2 separate regions of the Homo sapiens genome follow, and region 2 is linked to region 1. The links are contacts of gene promoters, found by promoter capture Hi-C in human tissues and cell types (Jung and others, 2019). All regions are on one chromosome and are shown on one strand. Each heading gives the region's core, a stretch centred on a gene start or on the middle of the fragment in contact. The rest is flanking DNA. Distances are from core to core; before and after follow the strand shown. Region 1 holds the start of EYS (eyes shut homolog). Region 2 has its middle 70 kb from the start of EYS.

Region 1 (4,484 bases), core at 666-3,165:
GGAGCAGCTAAGCATAGCTTAACGTACTCAGGGCTTGTTGGCCACCCTTCCCCAGAAATGTTTTATTTCTTTTGGTCCTTTCCTCTTTTTTGTTTTCCCTAAGTTTTTTGTTATTGTTTTAAAGATGCTACAGAAGGGGAAAGTGGAACCAAGTAAGTCAATACAGTTTTGTTTTGTTTTTTAACGCATTAACTCAATATTTGTTGAATGCCTCCAAATCAAGGCTTGGTATTAGGTTTTAGTAATTCCATGGAAAAAGGGGCATTGTGCTTATTCCCTATGCTCACAAGTTATTCTCTAGTTGGTTAAAATGCAGAAAATTATACAAATTTTGTCTGTCATTTATTTATGGCAACTGCAAACATGGAAGTTTCTTCATGGTTTGGCATTTGAGTTCTTGAATATTGAGTATAGTCAGGATTAAATCAATATCAATGCCCTTTTCCTTTCTAAATAGTAAAATGTTGCAAACATTTTTGTTTAAAAGGGCCATTTTTAGGCCAATTAAAACTATTAAGTTAAAAACTGAGAATTATTTTTAAAAAATCTGAATTATTAACAATTGCAATTTTTGTTGATAATAAAAACACACTTTATCCACTAGTAATATTGTATTTCCTTAATCCTGCTAATAATATAAACTGAATCATTATTACCTAAATATTAAGTTTTAAATAAAAACTTGTTAGAATTGATAATATAAATATAGTATGAAAATTAACTGCAAAGTAATATATATCAAAATTAATGGCAAAATAATATATATCAATATGTTGCATGCTTCAATATTCATTTCATATGTATTTTAGAAATCACATTTAATAATTTTAGGCAGAATGATTGATAGACATATACTCATATGATATAGATGATATGAGTATATATATGAGCATATATACACATGAGTATATATATCAATAGTTTCTAATATTATGCAATTAACTTTGAAAATAACATTAACCTTTAAGGTAAGCAATGGTCCCTTATTTTAATATTGTATACTAAGTAATTACAAATAGTTCAACATACCTGATTTCTGAAATATTTAAATAATAAAGATTTTTAAGCTCATTAAAGTCATAAGAATTAAACAGAACTAATAAATCTTATTGAACCATAAATCTCCTAAATAATAAGACTGGTAGTGTATTAATAAGGTAAGAGTGTTGGACCTGTGAAACACCTTTACGTTTTCTTTTTAAAAATAAATAATCACACTACAGCTGTTAAAAAATCATCATATCTGATCAGTTGTAAGAAAACTTAAACAACCACGTACAAAGGAAACACTATCCTCACAGTGCCATTGAAGAGGAAAAAAATGTTGATCATTAACATGAGAATAAACATCACCTCCAACAAAACTAGTATGAGTATCTCTAGATTTATGGCCAAAATCTTTTCTAAACAAACTGAAAAATCATACAATTTCATTTGCAATTGACATTTCATGGCCCTATGTATATGCTAGCAGACAATGGGGGAAAACCTCAAAAATCGAAAGCAATCATAAGTACTTCATGACTAAATAAAGATTCTCTAGCAATCCCCCAAATCCTGTATCTCAAAGGAGGTGAAAATTATATTATTTGTATATCCAAGGAATATAAAGCACATGTTGTTTTTGATTCAAACAGAATGAATATCCTTAAGCAAATGACAGAGAAAATTTAGTGAAAATGTTTTATATATAATAAGTAAAAATAACTGGTTAAAGAAATGCTTATGATTATAATTAGAGATCTTTGTAGTTGTGTTCAGCTAGGCAGTGTTTTTATCTAGTAATAGAAAAATAATTTCTAGGTGGAATCAAGTATAACTTACCCCAACCATTAGCCAAGGAGGCTTGCAACCCTAGGAGGCTTCTGATTACGGTTAATGTCTGGACATGCCTAGCGTGTATCACTTTGTTTCTCAGAAGCCTAATCCAATAAAGCTTCTTTTATATGTGTCTTCTGAAACATAGCACTAAAAGCCTTAACCTTTTGCAGTACAAAGGTAAAGTCATTAAAGCCATGTGCAGGCTGACATAAGGCCTGGCCTTTATTTAGCTAATCTGGAGATGAATATAGCAAATCACCATCTGGAGCTTTGTGTAAATCCATAAGCAAAATACTTCTCTACAATTTAATTATTCCTTATTTTATTTGTAACTCACCATTTTCATTGCTAACTTCATAGGTCTCAGTCTGAATGCTTTCTTGTGTTTTTAGAGATTATTACAATTTTTTTTTTGTTTTTGTAAAAAACTCATATACAGACAGTGGGAGAAAGAAAAAAGCTTTCTGTTGCTAGGGAAACCTGATGCTGAAGGTTTAGTAACAACCTCAGATGGTGTTGTATAGCAAAGGCTGTCAGCATAAGAGAACAGAAAGAGGGCCTGCTGATGCGAAGAACGATTTTAGTATGTTACTTATTGATTCTATGATGATCTTTATAAAAGAAGTAATACAGAATCTACCTTTTCCTAAAGAAGAATTATGGGACTATAATAAAGAAAGCCTCAAGAAATTTATACCACTGAAAGGTAGAATAAATGAAATCTCACCTCTATCTGTGAGATTATAGAAAGAACAGTTACTGAGTGCATTAGAATTTTGTCAAATTAAGATTCTATTAGTATATCCTGAACCCACAGTCCCAGTTGGACACTGGCTTTAATACTATCCTTATATTTTCAAATTACTAAATTAAACATAAATCATTTGTATTACACTTGATCCTGCAGTAAGTGTGTGAAACATATATTTAATCACTCTCCTAATGAAAGAAAAGTAATATTTTAAAATATTAAAATCACACTGTAGAAAAAAATTTCTATTTGTAGCAATAAATAAAATTATACATGTGTATATGTTTTATGATTTATTCTTTATATAATTTATATAATATTTACACATTTTTCATGAATCAATGTGCTACTAACATTTTGTTATCTAAAGGGAAGAACTTTTATATGTTGACTCATGGAAATGAGTTATTCATAATTATACACTGTGGCCTCCCAAGACAATTTACGCTGAACATAACATAGTATCATGATGCACATATCCATTTATATCTGGAAAACAGTTCATCTACTATATCTTGCTTCTTGTAAGACTTAGAAGTTTCCTCCCTTTCTCCCTCTCTTCCTTTCTCTCCCTTCTTTATCTTTCTCCCTCTGTTACTTTCTCTTCCTTCTTCCTTCCTTTCTTCACTTTTCTTTCTCTTGCATCTCCCCCTATTATTTCTTTCATCCTTTCTTATATCTTTCCCCTACCTTCCCCCTCCCTTCCTCCTCCTCCTTCCCTTCCCTTCCCCCTCCCTGTGTCCCTCCTCTTCCCCTCCTCTTCCCTTCCCCTCCCTCCCTTTTCCCCTCCTCCTCCTCTCCCCTCCCCCCTCCTCTCCTTGCCCTCTGCTCCCCCTTCTCCACTCCCCCCATTCCCTTCCCTTCCCTCTTTGCTCCCTCTCCCCCTTCCCTTCCTCCTCCTTTTCCCCATTCCCTTCCCTTCCCTCTCTGCTCCCCTCCCCTTCCCTCCTCCCTCCCCTCCACTCCTCTCCACTCCCCTCTCCCTTCCATCCCCCTTCCCTTACATCTCTCCTCCTCCCTTCCATCACCCTCCCGTCCCCTCTCCCATTCCCCTCCCCCTCCCCTCCCTCTCCCTTCCACCCCTCCCCTTCTGTCCTCTCCCCCCCCTCCCTTTCTCATCCCTTTAATTCTTGCTTTCTTTTTCTTTTTTTTTTTTTTTGGAAGCCAAGTCTCACTCTGTCATCCAGGCTGGAGTGCAATGGCACTCCAGGGATCGTAGCTCACTGCAACCTTTGCCTTCCGGGTTCAAGTGATTTTCCTGCCTCAGCACCCCCAGTAGCTGGGATTACAGGCACCCCCTCCACCATGCCCAGCCAATTTTTGTATTTTTAGTAGAGATGAGTTTTCATCATGTTGGCCAGGCTGGTCTCAATCTCCTGCCCTCAAGTGATCCACCTACCTTGGCTTCCCAAAGTGCTAGGATTACAGGTGTGAGCCACCGCGCCTGGCCCCTTTCCTTCTTACTTTCAAGTGACATTTGATAGAAGAACAAAAAGAAACAAAGACAGAAATTTAACTATGCAGACATCGGTGGAAGAGATATTTAGGTAGAGAAAACACTGATTAAAAATATCCTAAAGCAGGCCAGAGATGACTGGAGTAGAAACTATAATTGGGAGCATGACAGGACAAGAGGCTAAAGCAGTAAAGGATAAATCAGAATGTGAATGTCTCCCTATTGGCCATTTTATGGACTTTGGCTTTTACTTTAAATCTCATAGAAAGTTCATGGAGGTTTTGAGAAGAGAAAATACATGACTTGACTAACAATTAAAGGATTAATTTTGCGGTGACTAGAGTGAGAGGTTGGTGGAAATGGGAAGATGCTAAACCAGATTAGAGGCTATTATATTCATTCAGACACAGGCTAGCAGTGGCTTGGATCAAGTTGGCAGTAATGAAGGTAATGTTG
Region 2 (4,484 bases), core at 1,375-3,874, 70 kb after region 1:
AGCAGTGTTATAAGAAAAGTCATAAGAAAAGTTTTAGCACTAAATGCCCATCTCAAAAGTTAGAAAGATCTCAAATTAACAAGCTAACATCACACCTAGAAGAACTAAATAAACAACTCCAACACTAGCAGAAGAAAAGAAATAACCAAAATCAGAGCTGAACTGAATGAAATGGAGACATGAAAACCCATACAAAGGATCAATGAAACCAGAGTTAGTTCTTTGAAAGAATAAATAATATTGATGGACTGGTAGGTAGACTAATAAAAAAAGGAGAAAATACAAATAAACACAATCAGAAATGATAAAGGTGATATAACCACTGACATCACAGAAATACAAAAACAAACAAACAAAAACCTTCAGACAAGACATTATTACAAACATCTCTAGGCACACAAACTAGAAAACCTACAAGAAGTGGATAAATTTCTGAAAACATTCAAACTCCCAAGATTGAACTAAAAATAAACTAAAACGCAGAACAGGCCAATAATGACTTTTGAAATTGAATCAATAATAAAAGCCTGCCAACCAGAAAAAGCCCTATACCAGACAGATTCACAGCTGAATTTTACCGGATGTATAAGGAAGAGGTAGTAACAAACCTGCTGAAACTATTCCAAAAAATTTAGGAGAAGGGATTCCTCCCTAACTCATCCTGATATCAAATCCTGGCAGAAACACAGCAGAAAAAGTTAAAACTTCAGGCCAATTTCCCTGATGAACATAGATACAAAAATCCTCAAGAAAATACTGTATTCAGCAAACTGAATACAGTAGCATATCAAAAAGTGAAGTCACCATAATCAAGTAGGGTTTATCCCTGGGATGTAAAGTTGGTTCAACATACATGAATCAATAAATATGGTTCATCACATAAACAGAACTAAAAGCAAAAAACATATGATTGCCTCAATAGATGCAGAAAAAGCATCTGATAAAATTCAACATCCTTTATATTAAACATCCTCAATAAACTAGGCATTGAAGACACACACTTCAAAATAATATGACAAGAGCCATCTCTGACAAGTTCACAGCCAAAATCATATTGAATGGGCAAAAACTGGAAGCATTCCCTCTGCGAACTGGAAGAAGAGTATTACTCTCACTACTTTTATTCAACATAGTACCGGATGTCCTAGCCAGAGCAATCAGGCAAGAGAAAGAAATAAAAGGCATCCAAATAGGAAGAGATGAAATCAAGCTATCTTTCTTCACATACATAATGATTTTATACCTAAAAAAAAAAACAGGGTTTCTGCCTAAAAGCTTCTAGAGCTGATAAACAATTTCACCAATGCCTCAGGATACAAAATCAATGTGCAAAATTTACTAGCATATCTATTCACCAAAAACATCCAAGCTGGAAGCCAAGTCAAGAACAAAATACCGTTCACAATAGCCACAACAATATTAAAATACCGAGGAATACAGCTAACAAGGGAGGTGAAAAACCTCTAGAATGAGAATTTAAAAACCCTGAATTAAGAAATCAGAAACAACACAAACAAATGGAAAAATATTCCATACTCATGGATAGGAAGAGTCAATATTGTTAAAATGGCTATATGGTCCAAACCAATGTACAGATTTAACACTCTTCTTATCAAACTACCAATGGCATTTTTCACAGAATTAGGAAAATATATTCTAAAATTTATATGGATATAAGGGGTTGCATAGCAATATATTCAAGCTTCTGTACAAGGCATTTGAGGTCAGGGCATAGAAAAACACTGAGGTACTGTGTGTATGTTGTTTGTGCATGAGACTGTAACTCCTTGACCCTGAAAACAGGACAAGCAATTGAGTGTGTGATACGGAATGCTGAAAACAGTCTCCTAAGAATGTAGTTTAACTGCTTTTACAAGGCCATATGTATCTCATGACCCGACGGCAAAATGCCATCTGGTGGATGTCTGTAGTAGCAAGCCCTTTCAATAAATACTTGGTGGATGGATTCTGGGGGGCACTCTCTCAGAAGAGCTGCCCCTCACCCCGCTCAGCTGGAATTGTCTGAGTACTCATTCTTAGCATTCACTGAAAGCTATAAGCTGCAATGGAACCAAAAGAGAACCCAAATAGCCATGATAATCCAAAGCAAAATTACAAAGATGAAGGCATCATACTATCTGACTTCAAACTACACTACAAGGATACAGTAAACAAAACACCACAGTACTGCTTAAAAAGTAGACACACAAACCAATGAAACAGGTTACAGAACCCAGAAATAAAGCCTCACACCTACAATCACCTGATCTTCGACAAAGCCAACAAAAACAAGCCATGAAGAAAGGGAACCCTACTCAATTAATGGCAAAATAAATGACTAGTCATATGCAGAAGATTAAAAACGGACCCTTTCCTTTCACCATATACAAAAATCAACTCAAGATAGACTAAAGACTTAAATGTAAAACCAAAAACAATAGAAAACCTTGAAGAAAACCTAGAAAACACCATTCTAGACATAAGCCCTGGCAAAGACTTCATGTCGAAGATGTCAAATGCAATTACACCAAAAATAAAATTGGCAGAAGGGACCTAATTAAACTAAAGTTTCTGCACAGCAAAATAAACTATCAACAGAGTAAACAGACAACCTACAGAATGGGAGAAAATATTTGCAAACTACGCAACCAACGAAGGCTTAATATCCAGAATTTATAAGGATTTTAACAAATGAACAAGTAAAAAACAAACAACCCCATTATAAATTGAGCAAAAGATATAAACAGACATTTTTCAAAAGAAGTTACACACATGACCAACAAGCATATGAAAAAATGCTCAACATCTCTAATCATTAGAGAAATGTAAATCAAAACCACTGTGAGATACTATCTCACACCAATCAATCAGAATAGCCAACATTAAGAAGTCAAAAAATAAGAGATTCTGGTGAGGTCATGGATAAAAGAAAACATTTATACACTGCTAGTGGGAAGAGAAATTAGTTCAGTCACTGTGGAAAGCAGTTTGGAGATTTCTCAAAGAACTTAAAACAGAACTACCATTCCAACCTACCAATCCCATTATTGGGTATATACCTAAAGGAACACAAATCATCCTACTTTAGAGACACATGCACACATGTGTTCACTGCAGCACTACTCACAATCAAAGATGTGGAATATACCTAAATGCCCATCAAAGGTAAACTGAATAAAGAAAATGTGATACATATACACCATGGAATTCTATACAGCCATAAAAGAGAATGAAATCATGCAGCAACATGGATAGTGCTGTAGGCCATTATGCTAAGTGAATTAATTTAGGAGCAGAAAAGAAAATACCGCATGTTCTCACTTGTGTTTGAGAGATGAACATCAAGTACACACGGACACAAAGAAATGAACAACAGACACCAAGGTCTACTTGAGAGCTGAGGGTGGGAGGAAGATAAAAATAAAAAATCTACCCATCAAGTACTATGCTTATTACGTTAGTGATGAAATACTCTGTGCACCAAACCCCCATGACACACAATTTATGCATGTAAGAAACCTGCATGTGTACCCCCGAACCTAAAATAAAAGTTGAAAATAAAATAAATATATAAATAGAATGAAACAGTTTTTGTAATCACCTTAGCTTACTTTCTTAGAAAATTCTGTTATCAATAGGAATATAATTTATTCATGATGTAATATTTCATATTTTTAATATTTAGAAGCATGTAAATAGCATGCCAATTTTATATATGTGAATTAGTCCATATGTAAATGGGACATAATTATACAATAATGAATTATTTACTAAACTTATAATTCCCAAATTTCCAAACTCATGTTTTATATTTATACACATTTTTTTTTGGATACAGAGTCTCACTCTTTTGCCCAGGCTGGAGTGCAGTGGTAGACTCTCGGCTCACTGCAACTTCCACATCTCAAGTTCAAGTGATTCTCCTGCCTCAGCCTCCCAAATAGAGGTATATGCTTTTTATGTGGTAAGCTTTGGTGATGTCTGAATATTTAATAACTTGCATGGCACAGACACAGAACAGACACTAGCTTTGACAAAAAGAAAAGGACAATCATTAGTGTGCAAATTTAGAAAATATCACCCCTTGTAGGTCACATTACAATTTAGTAATTAATAGAAATCTTTGACCTAATTCTTACTCTTGGGACCATTCTTCCTTTCATATCCAAGTGACTTTCCTCCCTTATCTTCTTTGTCTTTGCACAACTATCACCTTTACAGTGACTACTCCTTGACCATCCTATTTAAAATGGCACATGTACTTTCCATCTTCCTCATTCTGCTTAATATTTCTCTATAGCACTTATTGCGAATAAAATTTTATTGACACATAGCCATACCCATATATTTAGCTATTGTCTGGGGTTGCTTTGTCACCACAGTGCCAGTTTGTAAAAGTATGAGAGATCCCGTGGCTGGCAAAGCCTAAAGAAGTATATAATATCTGGTCTTTGCAGAAAGGTTTGCCAATCCACACCCTGCAT

The links. The method cuts DNA at HindIII sites, captures the fragments that hold promoters and counts their contacts. A contact is called where the count stands out against the background at its distance.
Region 2: a contact is called between a fragment that was not itself captured here and the fragment with the promoter of EYS in region 1, in 2 of the 25 tissues and cell types used here (hippocampus and mesenchymal stem cells).

The regions. Positions count from the first base shown.
Region 1 is chr6:65,705,311-65,709,794 of GRCh38, forward strand. EYS (eyes shut homolog) reads right to left here and starts at 1,916. Exons shown (of 43, transcript NM_001142800.2): 1 at 1,825-1,916. The HindIII fragment of the contact is 4,031 bases long and covers 1-2,108 here.
Region 2 is chr6:65,774,640-65,779,123 of GRCh38, forward strand. No RefSeq gene overlaps it. Among named protein-coding and RNA genes, the nearest start is that of EYS, 70 kb to the left of the region's middle. The HindIII fragment of the contact is 5,057 bases long and covers 97-4,484 here.